Regions from separate parts of the Homo sapiens genome. Here all the other regions are linked to region 1. The links are contacts of gene promoters, found by promoter capture Hi-C in blood cells and fetal thymus (Javierre and others, 2016). All regions are on one chromosome and are shown on one strand. Each heading gives the region's core, a stretch centred on a gene start or on the middle of the fragment in contact. The rest is flanking DNA. Distances are from core to core; before and after follow the strand shown. Region 1 holds the start of AADACL4 (arylacetamide deacetylase like 4). Region 2 overlaps VPS13D (vacuolar protein sorting 13 homolog D). Region 3 overlaps VPS13D (vacuolar protein sorting 13 homolog D). Region 4 overlaps VPS13D (vacuolar protein sorting 13 homolog D). Region 5 overlaps VPS13D (vacuolar protein sorting 13 homolog D).

Region 1 (4,722 bases), core at 1,990-4,489:
AGTTTAAGATCAGCCTTGGCAACGTAGCAAGACCCCATCTGTACAAAATATCAAAAAATTAGCCAGGCGTGATGTGAAGGTGCACGCCTGTGGTCCGAGCTACATGGGAGGCTGAGGTGGGAGGATCACTTGAACCCAGGAGGTGGAGGCTGCAGTGAGCCGTGTTCACGCCACTGCACTCCTGCCTGGGTGACAGAGTGAGACCCTGTCTCAGAAAAAAAAAAAAAAAAAAATCCTCACTTTTCAGAGAAGAAAATAAAGGCACAAAAACATGAGTCCACAAAACGAGTAAGTGAGGGCTTCAGGGCTCAGAGGGTGGTCTGATACCGAAACAAAGCTCTTGATTTCCTGGCCATAGACTCTTTTTAGCTTTTTCCTTGTCCTCCCTAAACTTCTTGTTCCTGTGTTGTCTATCTGTCCTCTGGAACCGAATGAACATTCACTACTGTATGTCCTCATCCTCATCATCATCACCCCATGATGGGCAGTGTGCCCTGGGAGGCCCCAGTGCCGGAGGGATCGAGAGAGGACGCCACAAGCTGAATCCACCCTTTCAGCGGCTGCAGACCCATCTCAGAGTCCCCTGTGAACAGCCCATAGCAGCTGTCATCAGTAGATGTTTAGCTTGTGGGCTACTTTTGAGGAGAAACACTGACAGAAAAATCTCCATTTCTCTGGGCCACCTGAACATCTTAGGCCCTCGTTTTAAATCCTGGGGCTCTAACCCAACTAGTAACTCCATGTGGATTGCAGCCACTGGCTTGAGACTGCCTAATTCCAGGCTGATTGCATTCTCCAAATGAGAGGACACGAGTACTTTCTACATCCTTGTCCTGTCTCCTTGCGTCAGTGGCATTGATGCCACTGCACACTGAACTTGTCGGTGTCTCTAAAAGTGATCTTTTAGAAAATGTTTTTGTAACCCATGGGGAACACTTCCAGCAGCACAGAGATGTATTTTACGAATTCACTAAACATCTCTAGACATATTAACCCTCCCAGATGAGGAAACTGAGACACAGAGAGGTTAAGTAAATGGTGCAGGACCGCACAGCGAGTGAGTGACAGAGCTGGGACACACACTCAGGCAGTCCGGCTGCTGTCTCTGTTCCTTATTCCTAAGCCCTGCTGTCAGTTAAGCGTGGCCTCCTCATCCTCCTCCACAGCTGCCCTGGAATCAGTAGGAGCTGTTTGGCTTCTATAAGGTCTCCACCTAGGGTTGGGACATTGGGGTTAACTCAGGTTGCCTGCCACAAACAAGATGTCACACCACTGTTTCCAAATCCACTGCAACTCTGGGTGCATGCTGGTCCACCCCAAACCCCCAATCCCCAAGCCCTGCTCAGAGCCTGGCTGGCACGGCCACTCAGAAATGCTGGGTAAATTCATGTATACCAACAAAAGTAAGCACCTACCAGATACCAGGCTCTGTGAGTGGGACTGGGCTTACAGAGATGAATAAGGAAAAAAACACCTGTGAAGCTAGGTGCAGTGGCTCACACCTGCAATCCCTACACTTTGGGAGGCCAAGGCGGGCAGATTGCTTGAGCCCAGGAGTTCTAGACCAGCCTGGGCAACATAGCGAAACCCTGTCTCTACCAAAAGTACAAAAATTAGCCGGGCATGGTGGTGCGCACCTGTAGTCCCAGCTACTTGGGAGGCTGAGATGGAAAGGATCGCTTGAGCCCAGGAGGTTGAGGCTGCACTGAGCCATGATTGCACCACTGCACTCCAGCCTGGGCAACAGAGCAAGACCCCGTCTCAAAAAAGTAAAATAAAATAGAAACAACCTATAGGTAAGTCAGTGCACTGAGGGTGAAAGTGTGCGCGGCTGAAGGAGGGGCAGGGGCTGTCAGGCCACAAGCCCGGGGAAGGCAGGAACTGGGTCTGAAATTGTTTTTGAATTCTCAGAAAAGAGCCCAGTGATTGGCACTCGGTAAATGTTTGATGCTAAAGGAAGAAAGGAAGGGAGTTAGAGAGAGCAGGAGAGAGGAAGGAAGAACGGAACAAAAGGAGGGAAGGAAGGAAGGTAGGAAGGAAACAAGGAAGGAAGGGAGGGAGGGAGGGAGGGAGGGAGGAGGGAAGGAAGAAAGGAGATAGGGAGGAAGGAAGAAGGGAAAGAAGAAAGGAAGGAGGGAGGGAAGGAAGGAGATAGGAAGAGAGAGAATGAAGGAAGGAGGGAAGGAGGAAGGAAGGAGGGAGGGAGAGAAAGAAAGAAGGAAAAAGGAAGGAAAGGAGCGGAGAAGGAGGGAAGGAAGGAAGGGAGGGAGGGAATGAAGGAGATAGGGAGGAAGGGAGAGAATGAGGGAAGGAGGAAGGAGAGGGAAGGAGGGAAGGAAAGAAGGAAAAAAGAAAGGAAAGGAGGGAGAGAAGGAGGGAAGGAAGGGAGGGAGAGAGGAAGAAAGGCAGGCAGGCTATGGGAAGGGGGAAGGAACGGAGGGAGGGAAGAGAGAGGCAAACAGAATAGCAGATACAGAAGAGACAAGTCTATCTTGAGGGAGTCCGAAGAGAGAGAGACAGAAGGGAAGTGAAAGAGGGAAAAGAGGGTAAGGTACTGAGAACAAGAGAAGAAGCCCCCAGGTTACGACGTGGCCTGAGAGTAAACTCACCAAAGTGACCAGGTAGAGGAATATGCAATGCAGGAATCTCAACTTGGCAGGATGCTGCAAGGTAGCAGGGATATCCGTGGTGAGGAAGTGCTCAAAGACAGCCCAGACAAAGACCCCCAGGAAAAAGATGGGCAATGCCAAGAGTAGCACTAGCCAGGGGACAGCCATGTTCCTGGGGCCTTGAGGAGCTGCTGCCCTGAGGAGCTTGTCTGATAGCTTATGTGAAGAGGACCTGGCTGGGTTACACCCTCCGCCTCCTCCACCTCACTCTCTCTGGGCTAAGCCTGACACCTGACACAGTGGCCTGACACAGCTTCTCAGGGTAAGCACAAAAAGGCCAATGGGAGGTGGAGGAACCTATTTCCCTAAGCAATGTGGGGACCCAGAAAAATCAATACTGCTCATCATGGGGAGTCTTGGAAGGTGAGCTTCCCAAAGATTTCAGGAAGATCAGGCTCAGATGGGCACCTCGGCTCCTGGGAACCCTAGAAAGAGATCTCATATGGGTTATATAGGCCTCCAGGGCCTGATCTTTCAACTGTAAGATAAGAGACTTCGCCAGCTTTCCTTGTCAGAGTGTGGTTAGGGTGAGCACAGCACGTCTCACCCCAGCTCCCTAGCTAGCTTCCCTAACCCCAGTTTTGTTTTGTTTTTTGAAACAAGGTCTCACTCTGTCACCGCCTATGTACCCTCTGGGCCTCTGGCCAGATCAGGGCAAAGACTGGCGTGTTTTCTGGTAGTCATAATCTTCTGGGGTCCTGGGACGGGAGACAGGAATGCCATTGCAGGCAAAACTGGGCTTTATCCAGCCTCATATTCCGCCTCTAAAAATGGTGCCAAGGGCTGGTTTGGGGACAATTTTTATCCACGTTACTTTCTTCTAAGAGAGAAAGAAATGATTGGAACCATTTCAGGAAATAGGCTTTGAGCCTGAAAATTTTAGAAATTTTAATTTGGGCCGAGCACGGTGGTAATCCCACCTGTAATCTCAGCACTTTGGGAGGCTGAGCTGGGAGGATCACTTGAGGCCAGGAGTTCAAGACCAGCCTGGCCAACAGGGTGAAACCCCCTCTCTACCAAAACTACAAAAATTAGCCGGGCATGGTGGCACATGCCTGTAATCCCAGCTACTCGGGAGGCTGAAGCTGGAGAATCGCTTGAACCTGGGAGCTGGAGGTTGCAGTGAGCCGAGATCGCACTACTGCACTCCAGCCTGGGCAACAGAACGAGACTCTGTCTCAAAAAAAAAAAAAAAAAAAAAAAAAAGGGAGAATATAGAAACTATACATATAAGAAAATACCACTACCCTTAGGGCTTAAATAGAGCACCCAAGAAAGACCCCGTTTCCACCCATAGGGATGAGACCCAGCTCTTGTTGGAAAGGGCATAGTGTGAATTTGCTGAACTGGCAAAGAAGTTGCTCAACTGCTACACCAGGGGGACTCACTGGTGTCTTCCTCTTGACACACACACTCAACAAATTTGCTGAAAATCTGCTCCCTTGGGTGCTAGGGAAAGCCATTTATTCACAGGGAGGTGTTTTACTGGAGGCACTCTGAAGTGAAACCACCCAAGGGGACTGGAAGGGAAAGTTATTAACCTCCGAGTGCTGCAGGAGCTTGGAACTAGAAGGCAGACCCCCTTTTTCATTCCTATTATTTATGTTTTAGGTTTTTGGTTTTTTGTTTGTTTGTTTGGTTTGTTTCAGAAAACAAAAGTTATAGAAGAGGCTTTACCCCAGTGAGTATATGCATGGCAGATTTTTGTGTTTTTACGTCATTGTATCTTTGTAAGAGTTTACTTAGGTTTCTCTTAGAGGGTTATAAGATTCACTATTCTGGCTAGGTGTAATTATCTTTTGTCGTTGTTGTTTGTTTGTTTGTTTTTTGTTTTTTTTTTTGAGATGGAGTCTCGCTCTGTCACCCAGGCTGGAGTGCAGTGGTGTGATCTCAGCTCACTGCAAGCTCCGCCTCCCAGGTTCACGCCATTCTCCTGCCTCAGCCTCCGGAGTAACTGGGACTACAGGCGCCCCCCACCACGCCCGGCTAATTTTTTTGTATTTTTAGTAGAGACGGGGTTTCACCACGTCAGCCAGGATGGTCTCGATCTCCA
Region 2 (4,903 bases), core at 482-2,981, 190 kb after region 1:
TCAGTCCAAATATTTTACAACCTAGGGCAGTGATTCCTGACCTTTCTGGAGATGTAACCCCTATCATTATTTGTTTGCTTTCTGCCTTGCCTTCCATATCACTGCCTGTCTAATGAGAGAATTAAAGTTAATGAAAATTAATAACTTCCTTTAGGACAACTGGAAACACCACACGACGCTGCAAAGCTAGCACCGTGAATCACTAAGGAGTGGCTTCAGTCAGAGACCCCATCTGAGAGTTACCACAGTATAGGAGAAGGGCCACAAGCTGGGGCATCTGACCAAACTTCAGTCCTCCCTCGACCATTCTGGTAACTACATGACCCTGAGCGAGGTCACCTACCTCTGAGCCTCCTCTGCATCTGGAGAATAGCCAGAGTACCTACTTTGTCATGTGGCTGGAAGCATTCATGACAATGGCTCGGGGGCCTGGTATCTAGTTAGCATTCTTACTGTTCTTATTACTCTGCTACTAGTCCAAGGAGGAACATGCCTGCAGCGTTTGAGGGAAGCCTGTCAAAGGTTTAGAATTATGGTCATTTGCACTATAGTTTAACATAATAAAATCCTCTCTTTCCAGCAGATAAACACCAGCCTCCCAAGTAAGTTTTTGGAGTGGTACCACTTACAAAATTAGAGTGTTGGACTCTACGATTTCCAAAATCCTTTCCAGCTCTGGCACTGTGTGACCTACAACCCAAGGTAGAATGTCTTTACTAAATACTTCCTCTGAGCCCAGGACAGATTTAGGTACTGCTGAAGAACACAAACAAACAGCAGCCTTGAACCCTGCCCTCAAGAACTGACAGTCTCTTTGAGAAGGTAACAATCGTATACACAAAACAGTCAGCAGGAACCCAGGACACAAACTACACAGAAAGGAAATGTGACCTTTGTTTTGGAAAGAATCAATAAGAGTGCCTGCTATGTTTAGAATTATGTAGGCTGCCAGCGTTCTTCAGGTTCCAGACAAAAACGTGTCTCTCTGGTGCCCCAGACGCTGTGAGAACCACAGTTAAGTGACGCGTGCCCATGTCCTGTGTGTCTCCAGGGGACACATCTCCACCTGAAGAGACCCAGGAGCACCGCAGCCAATTCAGGGTCTTATTCAGGTCTTTCCTGTTTCTCTCAAGCTCTTATATTCTTTCTAAGAGCTTACATTCTCTTTCTTGGAAGACAGATAGGGTAAAGTGCTCTTTACCTATCGCTGGCAGCTAACTAGGAGGAAGTTAAAAATCCTATAATACTCCCCCACCAAGAGAATATGGGAGAATAATCTAGGCAGAATACCCAATATCACTCCCTCTTCTTCTACTCCCATCAATTAATATCCAAAGTTGATGAGTGAGCCTATGCCAAAAGCTTAATTTCCAACTAAGTCTGCTGTGGCAGCCTCAGCTCCCCAGCACCAACTGGGTCCTGGGTGTTCTCTATACAAAGACAATGTATTGACCCAAGGAGGATGGGATGAGATGACCTAAGAGATCACTCTTCCCTCTAATGCTGGATTCTTCCGTAAGATGAAGACCTTTGCCATGGAAAGGTACCTACACCTATCTCAACTTACTGTAGGACTTCTGTCTGAATTCCTGTTTCTCTGTCCATAAAAAATTGCTTATGCAAGCCAACTGGACTTGTCCTTTGCCACTTGTTAACAGTCAACCATTACAAAAGTCTTCACCCCTAGAAATACAGCTTTGAGAACCCAGAAAACTTGAGTAGATGTTGAAATCTATGATCCAACCAAACCTGTATTGATGAGTAGTTAATCAGATTTTACTGGGAAAGACGTTTTACAGAAACTAAACCAAAGCCAGCCAAATGATGGATACAGTGGTAAAGGCAGGGCCCTGGGCCAGTTCACTGCACTCTGAGGATTGAATCCAGGCTACCATAAAGCATGTGGCCTCCTTTTACTATGGAGGCATTTAGTTAGGCATCCTTAATTCTACCCCATTCCCCACCTCAGTGGGAAGGTAAGTCCTGCCCAGCCATTATTTCTCCCTCAAAGACAGCAGAAAACAAGTGGGCTGTGGAGGGAGGGAATTCCAGTGGTGCTCATCATGGGTGCCCTCTGGCCTTGCTCTTCTCTGAAGCTTGGAAGCACTATTTTACCCAGGTCCTTGACTTTGAAGATGGTCATCAAAACAGGGCAGAGATACCCAAAAGAGCTACACCATCATGTAGGGAGTGACTGGCCCAGGCCATCCTTCATGATCCCATCCTCCCACTGTCTTGTGACAAGTAAAGCCTGGAGATAGAGGTCCAGATTATTCAGACGAAGGAAAAATGAGTCCCGATATGAGCAAGTACAAATCCACTACACACCCAGTCAACCAAGCAATCCAACATGTGCAGAAGCCCTACTTGTACGGCAGGCTAGAGACAGAGAATCAGAAATCAGAAGTGGTTTCTGTCTCTTGCCTTCAAGACCTCAGTAGGGAAGTATGGATGTGGCATAATAGAAAGATAATCACACCTGAGTTTGAATTTTGACTGTGACACCCAACAGCTATGAGATCACAGACAAGTAACCTTTGCGGGCCTCTGTTTTCCTCCTTTTCAAAATGGGGATACAAATATTCCCTACAAAGATGCTGTAAGGATTAGGTAATACATGTAAAGCACATAGCACAGAGCCTGATACATATGAGACATTCAATAAAAATAGTATTATGTTATCTAAACTTTGACTTCTTTATATGCAAAATGGGAATAATCAGATTCTGCAGGACTGTCTTGAGGATTCAGGGATAGTGTGCACGTAAAGCATCTGGCATGGCATATCCCCCCAGCAAAGCGGAAGCTATCTGCAGCAGGGCATAACAGCACCAGGGTGTGCTAGGCTTCTAAACTGGGAAAGCGACTAGCAACTGGAAGGTAATCTGCAGACAATTTGTAACTCTTTGGTTATAATACCTTAACACCAGAAGGAGCATTTGCAGAGACTTAAGTCTGCCTACCTCATTTTGTAGCAATCTCAAGTCCACAAAATACTTAAGGCTTCAAGTGCATGTTGTTCTAGCTAAAATGAAAGGTTCCAAGGAACAAAATGTCCTTCAGAAAATCTAGTGTTACACTCACAAAGACAATGATTTTCCCCTTCCTTTCACTTCAACACATGCCATACTTGTGAATTCTGGCCACAGTCCAAAGTCATTAACTTCTATAAAGCAATATTTTCAGCAAGGGGGTAAAAATCTCAGAAGTACTTCAAGATGCCAGTTCTACTGAATAGCTAACACACACTCTGTCAACACCCTCCTTCCCAAAATAATCTCATTGTCTACACAAATGGAGACACTGCAAATTAGCCTGGGTTTGGGGCCTGGCTCCGAAGGGTTGATTTTCTAAAACTGAAATTCAAGTAGACACTGGAATGGGGCAAGGGAAAAAATTCACACTGTGTTCCTCTGTTCTGTCTGATCAGTTTACCTGACCCTTTTATGATCTTCAGCAAGCATGGGGTGCCAAAGGCATTTGGCCAGTGTAACAGGAGCTGGGGCTTGAATTTCTCTCCCTTCTCTTGGGTTCTTCTTTCACAGTTATTTACCTAATGGAAATTTCCTCTTTAATATCTTTGCCTCACTGAGTAATTGCTGGTGGCAGTATCTTCCTTGTCACCAGGGAAGATGGTAACCAAATACAACAGGAAAAGAGAGAAGTGGCAGGACTCCGTAGTGTGATGGAGAAGTTTTATATTCTTCCAAGTACAGATGCTCCTTGACTTATGATGGGATTACGTCCGGGTAAGCCCATTTTTAAGTTGAAAAGGCTTTAAGTAAAAATGAATTTCATACACCTAACATATCTAAACATGCCCGGAACACTTACATTAGCTGACAGCTGGGCGAAGTCATCTGGCAGCAGGGCCCACTGTAGAGTATTTGTTCCCTCTTCATGATCACGTGGCTAACTAGGAGCTGCGGCTGCCCTAGTGCCCAGCACTGCGACAGAATCGGATCACATGTCACCAGCCCAGGAAGATCAAAACTCAAAATCTGAAGTACAGTTTCTACTGAATGCATATAGCTTTTACGTCATCGTCAAGTCAAAAAATTGTAAGTTAAACCACCACAAGTCAGAGACTATACAAGGTTGTACAGCTGCAAACCTCAGCTACCAGCACAGCTCTAATTCTAATCAGCATTGTCTGCAATAAGCTATGTCTGAACTCATAAATTTGGAAAACCCAACTATCTATTGTGCCTCTAAGTAAGGCTGCCATGAACTTTGTGGGAGTTGCCACGATGTAGTCAAACAAGCAGGAGCAAAGGAATCAAATCTTACCCTGACAGTTACCAAACACGCATGCTGGTGGAAGAGGCTTAATTTCTCTGAACCTCAGTTTATCCATCTGCTAAAATCACATACTTTCTACTGTAAGGGATTGCTCTTTTTTTTTGCTGGCTGAGTCTCAGTCTGTTACCCAGGCTGGAGTGCAGTGGTGCGATCACAGCTCACTGCAACCTCCACCTCCTGGGTTCAAGCGGTTCTCATGCCTCAGCCTCCCGTAGCAGGGATTACAGTTGTGTGCCACCACGCCTGGCTAATTTTTGTATTTTTAGTAGAGACAGGGTCTCACCGTGTTGGCCAGGTTGGTCTTGAACTCCTGGCTTCATGTGATCTGCCTACCTCGGCCCCACGAGGTGCTAGGATTACAGGCATAAGCCACCGAGCCTGGCCTGCAAAGGACTGTTTTGAAGAGTTAAGAGAATAATTAATGCAAAATGTTTGGTGTAGCATTTGGCCAACACTTTTTACAAGTTTCTTAGAAGTAGTATGGGACTTTCAATTTCAGAGTCATTTTCAACTCTGCTGGTATACTACTAGGAAAACCATCTTTGAGTCATGTAAGACCTAAGTCACTTCAAAACGAAAGTCTTCACCACTGACTTCCGTT
Region 3 (4,240 bases), core at 1,038-3,537, 210 kb after region 1:
AGCTGCCCCAGCAGGTGCCCATTGGCAATAGTTTTGTGTTACAGGCCTGAATGAATGATCCCCGCAGGAGCTGCCGACTGTTTTCACAGACACAGAAGGCAGTCAAAAGTCCACTGCGTGAACTTGGAATGACCCCAGCTGCAGAGTCACTGGCGGGTTCATCGGGAGGGCAGGCACGCTTTATTAAACAACTAATACTCTTCACAGATAACTTTCCGAAAAAGCAAAAGTGTTAACTCTTTGCAATCTTGCTCTGACAAAACACTTCAGCTGTGGCGGGGCTCCCTGTGTGACTGAGGGTCTGAACCCAAGTGAGGGCTCTGAGATGGAGGAATGGCGCCAGCAGGGACCATGATTTCATCTGGCCTGAAGAAGGGTTGGGACTCAGTCACCATTTGGTCTACTGTTTTGTTGTTGTTTTTTTGTTTTTTTGTTTTTTTTTTTTCCCCAAGCGTTCCAGATTAAAGCGAAAAGGCAAAAAGCAAAGGTTTCGAGCACCTACTCCAGGGAGGACAGTGTGGCTGGGAGTCAGCCTGACAGTTACAGCCCCCAGCCAGGCCGGCTCTCAGCACCTCCAGAACAAGAGGGTGGCCCCTGGCTCATTCTGCCACATGCCTGTGCACCCTCGCAGATATGCGTGGGCCCCCATGGGGCTTCCATTCTAAGTTACCAGGAGAGAAAAGGTACTAAGGTACTAAGCTGTGAAGGCCATTGCAAACTCTCATCACCTGTGGGACTGGTGGGGCAGTCATTTTGTTGGCAGCAGCCAGATGCTGTGCAGTGGGTTCCCTTTAGAAGGAGGACTCAGACGCCAGGCACAGTGGCTCATGCCTGTAATCCCAGCACTTTGGGAGGCTGAGGCAGGAGGATCACTTCAGCCCAGGAGTTAGAGACCAGCCTGAGCAACATAGAGAAACCCCATCTCTACGAGAAAAAAAAATTTAGCCAGGTGTGGTGGTGTGCTCCCGTAGTCCCAGCTACTCAGGAGGCCGGGTTGGGAGGATTGCCTGAACCCAAGAAGCAGAGGTTGCAGTGAGACAAGATGGTGCCATTGCACTTCAGCCAGTGAGACTGTCTTAAAAAAAAAAAAAAAAGGGAAAGGATTCAGAAAAGGAAAGGGGTTCAGATCAAAGTGTTCTCATAACGAAGACAAAGCCATCACAAGTTCTTCCAGGGTTGCTGGACAGCAGGCAACTGGACACATCCACATTTTCAGTGTCCACTGAGAGGTACAGCAAACAGCCACTTCTGTCCTAGGGCAAGAACCAGTACTAAAGATGTTTTCGCTCTTTTCTTTTTTTTTTTTTTTGAGACGGAGTTTTGCTCTTGTTGCCCAGGCCGGAGTGCAATGGCACAATCTAGGCTCACAGCAACCTCCGCCTCCCCAGGTTCAAGCGACTCTCCTGCCTCAGCCTTCCAAGTAGCTGGAATTACAGGCATGCACCACCATGCCCATCTAATTTTGTATTTTTAGTAGAGATGGGGTTTCTCCAAGTTAGTCAGGCTAATCTCGAACTCCCGACCTCAGGTTATCCGCCCGCCTCAGCCTCCCAAAGTGCTGGGATTACAGGTGTAAGCCACCGCACCTGGCTTGCTCTTTTCTTTCACACAGCCTTTAGAAAGAACCCGATGACAATTCTAACAACATACAGAGAAAAACATATGAACATTTAGAAAAATTTTAAAATTCATTTTAACCCACAAAGTTAGATTAATTTTGGCATCACCCAAAGACTATGTGTCTATTAAAGTTTCATCTCTACTACATCTCACCACTGCCCACTAAATCTAATTATAAAGGGATTCCCTATTTCTTTCTTTTCATGGGGGCAGGTCTTGTTCTGCTTTCAGGAGAGATGCAAAAGTTTTGCATGGGTTTACTCACTGGGTAAGATTCTGCTGAAGGACTAGTAATAGAAGGTGCTTTAAGGAGCTGTACTACCTGCAGCCCCTTCCGGTAAGTTGACCTTGACACAGAACAGACTGGTTCAGTGCAACAAACCCTTGAGGGCTTCCTAGATCACAGGCTAAGTGCTTAGGGTTAAAGATACCAAGACGAGTATGACTTAGTCCCTTGTACTCATGGAACTCAGTATAGTATGGGAGACAGACACACAAATGGATAAAAAATAAAGAACGCTGAGAAGATATACAGTAGGCAAGGCTTACACCCTACTACTTTTCTCCCCCTCACTCCTACCAAGCAGGTGCCCACAAGCTGCCGGCCCAGTCTCAACAATCATACTAGATCTGTAGCCAGAAAGCCTGGGTTTGAGGGCTAGCCCTGTGACTAATTAGCTTTGAGAACCTTACAGGGTCTCAGTTTCTCTACCTATAATTTGAGAGGGCTAAAGGCTGGCCTTAAGGTTCTTTCCCAAATCTGCTATCCAAAGAGTTTCTACTGAATATCAGCGATTGTGTTAAGAGTCTGCATCTGGGAAAAGCTATTGTAGCTTTGCCATATTCAGCTGGAATAACTAAGAAAAGTTTTAGTGTTGACACATCTCTTAGGAAGAATACAAGATGGGGTTAAATAGGCAAAAGTTAGAGAGTTTAAATTATCATATGAAATATTATTAAAACTAGGCTTCTCACCAAATTCAATTTTTTAACATAAGTTAGACACAGTTCACTGTTATGTTTTTACCTTTTACAGAGAAACAAGTGGCAAATTCTTCCTGTGTTTAGTCCTAACAACTTTTATCTCTCCATATAATTTATTTGTTGAGGCACCTCAGTTTGTCACGTTAATTGATTTCTAAGCAACTCTTCTGTAGCAATCCTACAACTTTCACTTGCTAATTCTACTGGACACAAAATCCAAACAGGCTGGTAAAATCTATCTGGCTTTGCCCCCTTTTGCTTTGTTTCTTAGTGATCGTAGGACTGGAGATTTGCATGACCCGCTGAGACTATAGAACCAAGCATTCACACAATCTGGCGTGGGTGCTAGGAAAGCAAGGCCCTCTTGGAAGCAAGATGTTTCACAGCTGTCTTCAAGGCATCAGAAGCTCCTCTGGCTCTCCTCTGAGAAGGCTTAGTGTGGTAGGAAAAGAGTGGGCTCAGTGTTTGTGAAGCCTGGGCACCATCCCCTGGTTCCAACACTGACTGCACGGTCTTGGCAAAACCATTTAACCTGTGTAACTTAATTTCCCATCACTGGAAGGGAAATGATAATCATACCTAACCTGCTGGCCCCACTGGGATGTTGCAAGGTTAAATTATCTCACAGACGTGAAAGTGCTTTAATTCCTGAAGGAGGAAAGAGTGCTTTCTAGAGCAGCAGTATGGTCTTTGAAAAGAGCTTGGGGCTGTAAAGAGCCTGGTCCTCTTCCACAAACTCCCTGTTTGACCCTCCAGAAGTTAATTACCTTCACTGTGACTCAATTTCTTTATCCGTCAAATGGGGATAAACTTGACTCTTTAATGCATAAGTTTGTGAAGATCAAATAGTAACAGGAGGACGCTACAAAGGTTGAATTGCTATAAAACTACAAGGAGCCATGAGTGCCTCCTCTTTTATAACTAACTTTGGCATGATCCTTGCTCATTTCCAAGTTACCAATAAAGAGAAAATTACCTCAATGGCCACAATATCCTGCTTTGAACATTACAATGGCAACAAAACTGAGACAAGGGGCTGTTTGGGAAGCATGTTCTGCTTAATTTTCACTTCAGTGAAAACAATTAAGGTTTCCAAACCAATGTTTTATTATATAAATTCAACAGCTTGCAGGAAATGTTTACTTCAAACATTTTCCTGGAATAAAGCAAATATTTCCCATAAATATTATTTTAATTCATTAGATTAAAAGGGACTAGGTTTTCTTCTCCTTCCTCTAAACCAGCTTCCTGCTACCTTAAGCGAAGCCTGGGTCCAATCAATAGTGCCCACCTGGCTTCATGAGAGCCAGGTCAGTATCTGCTAAGCGCTTGCTGTGCCCCAGTGCTGTGCTAGACCTGAGGCATGGGGAAGGGAGGAGAAGAAATAGGATCCTAAAAGTCAATGTCCTTTTCCTGTCTGTATTGCTATAGTACGATTTTGGCTATTCACCAGCTTACAGATATGTTTGGGGGGAAACTTGTAAATAAACTTTTAAAAAGTTTGTATGGGCTAAGTGCAGTGGCTCACGCCTGTAATGCCAGCACTTTGGGAGGCCGAGGTGGGTGGATCAGCTGAGGTCAAGAGTTTGAGACAAGCTGGCCAACATGGCGAAACCCCATCTCTACTAAAACTGTA
Region 4 (4,791 bases), core at 457-2,956, 250 kb after region 1:
TCCACAACCTGCTGAATGAAACAAAAAATTTAATTAAAAAAATAAAACAGGTGATACTATGTGCGAAGCTCCATGCTAGCCACTTCATATGCATGATCCCAAGTCACATCATACCTGTAACGCTGGTGGTTAAACTAAGGGTTTGCTGCCATCCTTATGACAACTTCATGAGCTCTGTCCTTATATCACAGAGGAAGAAGCTGAGAAGAGAGGCCCTTGCTTCAGGTCACACTGCTGGTCAGTGGCAAAACTAGAACTTGAATCTCGGTCTGTCTGACCCCAAGGCCAGCACTCCTAAACACTATGCTATCGATGCTTCTCTCTTGCTCCAAATTCCTTCAAGACAATTTAAATTAGAGAACCAGGAGCTCAAATGGCTACCAAATTGTAACAGTTTCCTCTACTAAGGTCAACTCCCTTCTCGGGAACGAAACGATTAAGTCAGCGGCATTAGGGTTGACTCTATTTACACAGCCCTGATCAGTATCAGTGCCATCACAGAGGACACTTGCCACACTCAGACATGCATGGATGTCTAGAGGCTCCTTGCAGGAAGCAGCCATCTTCCTGTTCTGTCTCACATCGAAGTTCACCACCAGGAAGAGGAAAGAGGACAGACCATCTTTTTGGGTACCCCTAAGAGACCATCTGCAGGTACTTTCCACACACCCCCTATCATATCACTTCCTAAACCCCTAAAGGCTAGGTATTATTCCTCCTCATTTTACAAACAAGTAGACAGAAGCTTAATGAAGTTAAATTATGTTGGCAACAGAACGAGACTCCGTCTCAAAAAAAAAAAAAAGAAAAAAAAGTTAAACTACTTGCCCTCATTCGCACAGCTTGTAAGTGGAAGAGGTGGGATACAAATGCAGAGATTTCTGGCACCGAATCCTCTGACCTCTCCATTGTATTGCAGGGATTTCCAAATAGACATTTCTGTACAACTGGAAATGACTTTTCTTCTGTTTGTTCTCAGGGCAGGGATAAGGGCAAGAGACTTGGAGTATTTTTTCCTACTTCCATTCCTTCCTCCTACAATGTATTCTCTATATAGCAGCCAAAGTGATCTTTCAGTAAACTATAAATCGAGTCATACACACCCTTCCTTTACACTATTCAGTGGTTTCCCTTTCTCTTAGGATAAACCAGACTTCTCACCACAGCCTCTAAGGCCTGCATGAACTGGCACCAAATTCTCCAGCTTCATCACACACCACTCTTTCAGGTTCCCTACCATCCTCACCTGAGCCTCCTTATTGTTTCTAAAATGTGGGCAAGTCCTTCCTTCCTCAGGGTCTCTGAATTGCCTGAAATGGTTTCTAGTGACCATCTCTATGGTTTGCTCATTCTATTCCTCCAAGTTTCAGTTCAGCTCTCATTTCCTCAGGAAGATCTTCCTGAGCCACTTTTTCTAAAGTAGCACTTTATCTAAAGTAGCTATTCTTTACAGCAGTTATCACAGAATGTCATTATTCATTTGCTTGCCTGCCTGCATATTTATTGGCAGACTTTCTCTCTAGGCTGTTGGCTCAAGAGCAAAGCCTGCATTTTTGAAGTCATAGCCATATCTCCAGAACCTAGTACAGTGTCGGGCACACACTTGATGCTCAGTAAGAATGGACTGAATGAATGAATCATTACCTATCTCATCCAAATATGAAATGGCAATAAAGGGCTCGACCATATTGTCTTCTCCTTTGTTCTTTCACTAAACACATCTGACACAAGGCGTCGTAACTGAGAATTACTAACTCTACCTAGTTTTATTCTCCTAATTAGATCGGATGCTGCCTAAGGAGAGGATCTCTATTTTCTATTTTTAAAAATTCCTTCTTGCAGCACTGTAACCACAGTAAAGTACAAACCTGATTATTTTCTATGATTTGCAGCATACATCACATAAAGAGGTATTATAGGAAAAAACAACTTTTTGGCCAGGCGTGGTGGCTCACGCCTGTAATCCCAGCACTCTGCGAGGCCAAGGTGTGCAGATCACCTGAGGTCAGGAGTTCAAGACCAGCCTGGCCAACATGGCGAAACCCCATCTCTACTAAAAACTACGAAAATTGCTGGGCGTGGTGGCGGGCACCTGTAATCCCATCTATTTGGGAGGCTGAAGCTGGAGGATCACTTGAACCTGGGAGGCGGAGGTTGCAGTAAGCAGAGATCGTACCACTGCACTCCAGCCTGGGCGACAGAGTGAGACTCCATCTCAAAATAAACAAACAAATAAACAAACAAACAACTTTTTAAAGTAAAGAATAAAGTTAAGGAAACTAATGAACAGCAAATGGTTCCTTGAATTGTCTCTGTAAGGTCGAAAAAAGGAGGACAAGGAAAAATAGCTGCAAGATATTAACTTTCTATCTGTGCACAAATAAATAGGATACGATTAGCCTGAATTCTCTGTTATTCGTGATATATAATAAAAGAAAAATTTCTTCTGAAAAGAGGTTCTGGCCTCGACAATCTGGATGGAATCGCATGACATGTTAAGGGAGAGAAGGAGCCCCAGTCATGGGAGACACATTGCACACACTCCCAGTAAGGATGTAGTTCGTCCATTTGGGAAAAAGAACCACAGTCTGGGGCTTTGGATTCTTCTTCTGGAAATGTCTACCAGGAACTAGTTTCCTGAACATATTTAAACTTTGATGAAGCTTATAAAGGAAAAGCGTTCCAAGTATGATGTTACAAACAGATAGAAGTTGTTCTGATAGCACACTAACAGTACTCTGCCAAAAATTGTAAAGGTCGACTTTTTCAGAACTCCGAAAGTTAATAAAAAACTTGCGACAATCTAAGGAGCATTTACTCAAGAAAACAAGCTGAAACTCAGTGAGAACAGCGAGCTCTGTGGCATTTTAATTTGTCCTATTCTCTTCACCCCTACCCCAGCTCCACAGTAGCCTTGAAAACCAACGGCCCTACAGTCACACTGCAAACAAAGCAGTCCTAGCAGACACTCCAGCAGCCAGAAGGAATTTGCAGCTCCCCCAGGAGTCCCATCCCCAGACTTGTCAGTATTTGGCTTGTCTGGCATCTCTCTCTTTCCTGATATTAATAATCTATGTCTTCTCTTTTTCTCCTGCTCAGACTGGTTAGAGGCTTATTAATTTTATTGATCTTAAAGAACTATATATATATATATATATATATATATATATATCTCCTATTAGTTCTATCCCTCTAAGAGAACCCTGACTAATACAGATTTTGGTACCAGGTGTGGTTCTAGAGGAACAGAATATTAAGGATGGAGTTCTTTCATTGGCTTTGGGGTTTCTGGAGTTGGCTGCTGAATATGATTAGCCCCCCAAAAAATTGCTAAGGACTCTACCTCTAATAGTATGGAGAATGCTGATAGTCCTTGGCGTGAACCGTTTGGAGAATTATGCAAAATAAATGCATTTGACACTCCTGATTCACCGCTCATGAGAGGCAAGGATTTTAGTGACTCTATACATAATACCTTTGACCATATGTAGAAAACCAAGTAACATAATGAAGCTGGTTGGTTGCTCCTAAGTTCAGTGGACAAAGTAATGAAAGAAAATGATGAACTCAGGGATTCTGTCTCCCAGCTTCAGAAGCAGATACTGAGCCTCAAATCTGCTAAGATTGCCCTAAGTGAGAGTCTTATCTCCTGCAGAGAAAGAGCTGAAATTGTGGAAAAACAGACACAAGCTCTTGTCATGCAAGTGGCTGACCTGCAATGAAAGATGCACGCCGAAAGATGCACACACAGCCTCACCAGATGTCTGCTGTTAAAGTGAGGGCAATGATTGGAAAAGAATGGGACCCTGCAACTTGGAATGGGGATGTGTGGGAGGACCCTGATGAAACTCGGGGAAACTGAGTTTGTAAACTCTGATGAGCCTTTTTTGCCAGAAGGATGAGCTTCCCCATCCCCAGTAGTGGCAACATCTCCTCAACCCATGCTGTCATCAGCTTTCCACCTTTGTCTGAGGAGATGAATCCTATGCTGCCTAAGGCAACAGTGATGACCTCTCTTGAGGCAGCTGCCAGGCAAAGTAATGTTGATTCTCCTCAGGAGTCACCCCCAACACCCCTGTTTGCTTCTAGACCTAAAGTCCCGGCAGGCCCCTAGATGTGAGGTTGAGAGTGTGACTCACGAGGAGGTGTACTACACTCGAAAAGAACTGTTTGAGTTCTCTAATTTATATAGAAAGAAATCTGGAGAACAGATACGGGAATGGATATTAAGGGTATGGGATAATAGTGGAAGGAACATAGGGTTGGATCAGGATTTATTGATCTGGGCCCACTAAGTAGGCATTCTGCTTTTAATGTTGCAGCTTGGAGAGGTAAAAAAGGTTCTAATAGTTTATTTACTTGGTTAGCTGAAATATGGATTAAAAGATGGCCCACCGTGAGAGAGGTGGAAATGTGTGATCTCCTTTGGTTTAACGTACAGGAAGGGATCCAAAGGATTAGGGAGACTGGGATGGTGGAGTGGATTAGCCACTTCAGACCTACTCATCCCAGCTGGGAGGGTCCAGAAGATATATCCTTGACCAATGCCTTGCGGAACAGATTTGTAAGGGCAGCACCTGCATCTTTGAAGAGCCCTGTAATTGCTTTTCTCTGTATGTCAGATCTAACGGTGGGAACAGCAATCATTAGCTACAAAATTTAAACACAATGGGGATAACTGGATCCCGAGGTGGCAGGTTGCCAAGTGGCAGCACTCAATCGTCAAAGGCAAGGTGGGCATAGCTACCATAATGCACAGCAGAGGCAAAGTGGCAATCAGAATAGTCTGAC
Region 5 (4,746 bases), core at 917-3,416, 230 kb after region 1:
AGCCACCATGACTGGCCCCTCCACTCTTTCTGTACTTCCAATTGCCTGATCCCAGGTTCCAGTGATATCTGCTGTATCACTTTCCTTAGTTAGGTGGAAATATCACCAATTAGGATAGTCAAAAAAGGAAACGGGGAATGGAGAAAAGGAAGTGAGAATAAAATATATTTTAACTTTGAAAGCTATTAAATTTGATACGATCTTGACCTATCTATTCATTGAAGATTATGCCTTGCCTTTACTTTTTGATCTTTGCAGTCTGGATAATAAATACAAAATGGAAAATGTCCAAGGTGATTTAAAAAATTTCAAGTTCAACCCAAATGCAGGATCCCACAGACTCTAAGAACATGGGTGTAGTTGCTGAAAGAAGGCCCATGCCTGGTAAATAAAAACATTATTTTGTTATTATTAAAGCATCAACTAAACCATTAAGAGTCATGATTAATCTAGCAGGAACCCCTCAGACTAGCTCTGAGGGATGAAACTAACAGCTCATAGGTCAAATGTACTATCTCAGGATTTTCATGACACATACGGGCTTCTTGGGAAGTGACCTGACCCGTAACACAACAGAGTTGAAATGTTTAACTGGGTTCTCAATAGTAATGCCTTAGTAACCAAAATTCCCAAACAACTAAAACAAACATTCTGCTTATGCTCCAGCCAATGATTACTTCTCCAAGCCTCACCTCCTGGAAATGTTTGAGGATATCATTGATGATGAACTCCTTGGTCTCATAGGGATGTACCCGAGTGAATGGATCTAGATTAATCACAGCGTCTTCAAACCGTATCAAAGGAAACCCCAAGGTGCTTTTTAGGGCCTAATTAGGGAAGAAAGGAAATGACATACTTAAGTCATATGATGGCCTTCTGTGATACTATAATTCTAGATTCCATTAAAGCTACAAGTCATGTTAACTTTCGAATGAGGGTCAGGTTTTGATGTTTATAAATAAGGATTTTCCCTATAACTATAAAAGTAAAATACTAGGGAAAAATACATATATAGACAGACATATATCACCCAAGTCACATGTATCACACAGAAATAAACACTATCAGTTTGTGTCATAATTCCTTTTAGTCTGTTTTGTATCTGTTTGTCATGTTTTACTTTTTGACTGATGTAAACCACACACACAGAAAAGTATACTAATCAAATGTATAGTTCAAAACCCAAATGATTTTTCCCAAAGTGAACACAATAATGTAACCACCACCAGATCAGAAAGCAGACTGTTATCCCCATCTTGGAAGCAGCCCACTCACCATGAGCATGCTCCCACTCCCTCCTCCTTCCTCCCCAAAGACAACCACAGTGATGACATCTATCACTACAGGTAAGTTCTTCTGCTTTAAACTGCATATAAATGGAATCATCAGTATGCACTTCGTTGTAGGTGGCTTCTCATAGACAACATTACATATGGGGGTTTCCTAGATTGTTGCATATAGCTGTAGTTTGTTAACGTCCATTGCCATATAAATACTCCATTGCAAGAATAAAACAATGTATTTAACCACCATTGTTGATGAAAAGTTCAAAAGTTGGGTTGTTTCAGGCTTTTTGATATTATGAATAATGCTGCTATAAACAACATTAGACATGTCTATGGCAGACTAGATAACAGGTTCTCACTCTGTTGTCCTGGCTGGAATGCAGTGGCACAATCACAGCTCACTGCGGCCTTGACCTCCTGGGCTCACGCGATCCTCCCACCTCAGCCTCCTTAGCAGGTGAGGCTACATGTGCAAACTACCATGCCCAGCTAATTTTTGTATTTTTTGTAGAGAAGGGTTTTCACCATGTTGCCCAGGCTGGTCTCAAACACCTGGGCTCAAGCAATCCGCCTGCCTTGGCATCCCAAAGTGCTGCGATTACAGCTGTGAACCACTGCTCCCTGCCTAGCTATGTCTTTTGGGGCACATTTATGCATTTTTCTTGGACATATACCTGGGAGTGGAACTGGGTCATAAAGAATGTACATGCACAATCTTAATATATTCTGCCAAACAGTTTTCCAAAGTGGTCAAACCAGTTTATGCTCCATTCAGCAGTCTACAAGATCCCTTGCTATTCTACACCCTCATCAACACTTGGTATAGATCGTTTAAAAAAAAAAAAAAAGATATTCTGGCTAGGAGTGGTGGCTCATGCCTGTAATCCCAGCACTTTGGGAAGCTGAGGTGGGAGGATCGCTTGAGGCCAGAAGTTCAAGACCAGCCTGGGTGAAGAAGTAAGACCTTGTCTCTACAAAAAGTTTAAAAATTAACTGGGCATGGTGGCGTGCGCCTGTAGTCTCAGCCATTCAGGAGGCTGGAGGAGGAGGATCACTTGGACTTTGAAGGTCAAGGCCACACTAAGCTGAGATCATGCCACTGTACTTAGCCTGGGTGACAGAGTAAGACCCTGCCTCACTCTTTCTTTCTCAAAAACAGAAAACAAAGTCTCTGTTGCCCAGGCTGGAGTACAGTGGCGGGATCTTGGCTCACTGCAGCCTGGACCTCCTGGGCTCAAGTGATCCTCCTGCCTCAGCCTCCCCCTACAGGTACATACCACCACGCCCAGCTGATTTTTTTTTTTTTTATTTTGGAGAGACAGGGTCTCACTTTGTTGCTCAACTCCTGGCCTCAAGTGATCCACCCATCTCAGCCTCCCAAAGTGCTGGGATTACCGTGGCTGACCCTGTCACTTAAAACAAACAACGACCAAAAACAAAAACAAACAAACAAACAAAAAAACACCCAGAAAATCTGAACAGTGTGTAATGGTATCTCAGCATAGTTTTGACAGATAAACTGATGGGTGTGTAATGGTACCTCAGCGTAGTCTCTTTTCAGTTGAGAAGTGAGATTAAGCAACTTTTAAATGCATAAGCCATTTGGATATCTTTTTGTGAAGTGCTTATTGAAGTATTTTGCTCATTTTTGTAGTGAGTTCATGTTTTTTATTTCTTACTGCTTTGTAGGAGTTCTTATATATTCTGTATACCAAGTCCTCTGTTGAACAGATGTGTTGCAAATATCTTCTTCCATTCTGTGACTTATCTTACTACTCTTTAAATGGTGTCTTTTAATGATCAGACAGTCTTAATTTTAAGGAAATCTGCCTTATCAATATTTTCTTATATGGTAAGAGCTTTCTGTGTCCTGGTTAAGAAATTTTTGTCTACACCAAGGTCATAAAGATATTCCCACGTTTACTTATACAAGTTTTATTGTTTTACTCTTCACACCTAGATTTTATTTATGCTCCACCTAGAATTTATTTTTATGTACGGTAGGAGGGAGTGGCCAAGATTCATTTTTTTCTGATAAATATTGAACTAAGTAATATTTACTGAAAAGGTCATCCGTTCCACTACCGCAGTATGGCATAAATGCTGTCAAAAGTCACGTGATGGTATTATACATCCATTTCTGGATTCTCTCTTCTGTTTCACTTTGCTCTGCTTTCTACTAATGCCACACTGTCTTAATTACTGTAGTCTTGTAATAATTTCTGAAATCGAATAGTGTAAGCTCTCCCCAACTTTGTACTTTTTCTCCAGGGTTACCTTAGCTGCTCTTTGCGCTTTTCAACTGCAGAGAAATTTTAGAATCAGCTTGTCAATTTGCTTCCAAAAAAACTGCTGGAATTTTCATCAGGACTGTACTGAATCTACAGATCAATTTGAGGAGCAACGACAACTTTACCGAATCTTCCAACTTATCGACATGGTATGTCCCTTCATCTATGTGGGTCTTTAATTTTTCACAATAATGTTTAATTGTTTTCTGTGTAGAGGTCTTATACGTCTTTGGTTGGGTTTATTCTTAGATACTGTGGTAGATTTAAAATGACCACATATTCTTTGCATCTTCTGTCAAGTGGTGAAGTCTATGTTCCCTCCACCTGAATCTTCACTAGCCTTGTGATTTGCTTCAGCCAATAGGATGCGAGAGATATAATAATGTGTGACCTTTGAGCCTGAGCCTCAAGAGAGCTTGGAGCTTCTGCACTGCCTGTTTTGATGCTTCCACCACGTGAAGAAGCTGGGAGTAGCTTCCTTGAAGATGGGAGACCATGTGGAAAGGGGTTCTGCTGACAGCCAGCACCAATCCGCTGGACATGAGACTGAGGTCATCTCATACCATTTAATCGCGTTTAACTGCCAGGTGAGTGCAGCCATATGAACAACCACTGGTGAGACCAGCAGAAGAAACACCCAGCTAGGTCTAGTCCAAATTATTAACCCACAGAATTGTAAACAAATAAGATGGTGGTTGTTTTAAACCACTGCAATTTGGCGTCATTTGTTACACAATAATAGATAATGATACAGTAGTTAATGTTTTCTTTCTCTCCCTCCCTCCCTCCCTCCTCTTCCCTCTCATCTCTCTCTCCTCCTCCCCCTTCTCTCTATCCCTCCCTCCTTCCTTCCTTCCTTCCATTTTTGTAGAGACAGGGTCTCCCTATGATGCCCAGGCTGGCCCTGAACTCCTGGGCTCAAGTGATCCTCCCACCTAGGCCTCCCAAAGTGCTGGGATTACAGGTGTAAGCCACCACACCCAGACCTGTTTTCTTAATAGCCTCCAAATTTTTCTTTTCTCTGTTATTATTGCTGACATGTAGAAATATAACTGTTTTCTATACTGTCTCTAGTGACCTTACTAAATTTACTTATTCTAATAACTAATCTGAAAATACTTTTAGATTTTCTAGTAAACGATCGTGTTTTCTACAAATAACGAACTTTT

What was found. The method cuts DNA at HindIII sites, captures the fragments that hold promoters and counts their contacts. A CHiCAGO score of 5 or more calls a contact.
Region 2: a fragment that was not itself captured here is called in contact with the fragment with the promoter of AADACL4 in region 1 in 2 of 17 cell types (M0 macrophages and M1 macrophages); the score reaches 6.1 in M0 macrophages.
Region 3: a contact is called between a fragment that was not itself captured here and the fragment with the promoter of AADACL4 in region 1, in 3 of 17 cell types (M1 macrophages, M0 macrophages and naive CD4 T cells). The highest score is 7.8, in M1 macrophages.
Region 4: a contact is called between a fragment that was not itself captured here and the fragment with the promoter of AADACL4 in region 1, in 10 of 17 cell types (naive CD4 T cells, total CD8 T cells, M0 macrophages and 7 more). The highest score is 9.9, in naive CD4 T cells.
Region 5: a contact is called between a fragment that was not itself captured here and the fragment with the promoter of AADACL4 in region 1, in 9 of 17 cell types (total CD8 T cells, naive CD8 T cells, M2 macrophages and 6 more). The highest score is 10.2, in total CD8 T cells.

Annotation. Positions count from the first base shown.
Region 1 is chr1:12,642,602-12,647,323 of GRCh38, reverse strand. It overlaps AADACL4 (arylacetamide deacetylase like 4), which reads right to left and starts at 3,239. Exons shown (of 4, transcript NM_001013630.2): 1 at 2,610-3,239. The coding sequence starts at 2,777. The HindIII fragment of the contact is 15,531 bases long and covers 1-4,722 here.
Region 2 is chr1:12,449,626-12,454,528 of GRCh38, reverse strand. The region is part of intron 65 of VPS13D (vacuolar protein sorting 13 homolog D); the gene reads right to left. Among named protein-coding and RNA genes, the nearest start is that of SNORA59A, 55 kb to the left of the region's middle. The HindIII fragment of the contact is 734 bases long and covers 1,365-2,098 here.
Region 3 is chr1:12,429,464-12,433,703 of GRCh38, reverse strand. The region is part of intron 65 of VPS13D (vacuolar protein sorting 13 homolog D); the gene reads right to left. Among named protein-coding and RNA genes, the nearest start is that of SNORA59A, 76 kb to the left of the region's middle. RefSeq lists a cis regulatory region at 140-150 and an enhancer at 73-217. The HindIII fragment of the contact is 6,682 bases long and covers 1-4,240 here.
Region 4 is chr1:12,394,378-12,399,168 of GRCh38, reverse strand. The region is part of intron 60 of VPS13D (vacuolar protein sorting 13 homolog D); the gene reads right to left. Among named protein-coding and RNA genes, the nearest start is that of SNORA59A, 110 kb to the left of the region's middle. The HindIII fragment of the contact is 1,918 bases long and covers 748-2,665 here.
Region 5 is chr1:12,411,168-12,415,913 of GRCh38, reverse strand. It overlaps VPS13D (vacuolar protein sorting 13 homolog D), which reads right to left. Exons shown (of 70, transcript NM_015378.4): 64 at 693-827. Among named protein-coding and RNA genes, the nearest start is that of SNORA59A, 94 kb to the left of the region's middle. The HindIII fragment of the contact is 5,438 bases long and covers 1-4,746 here.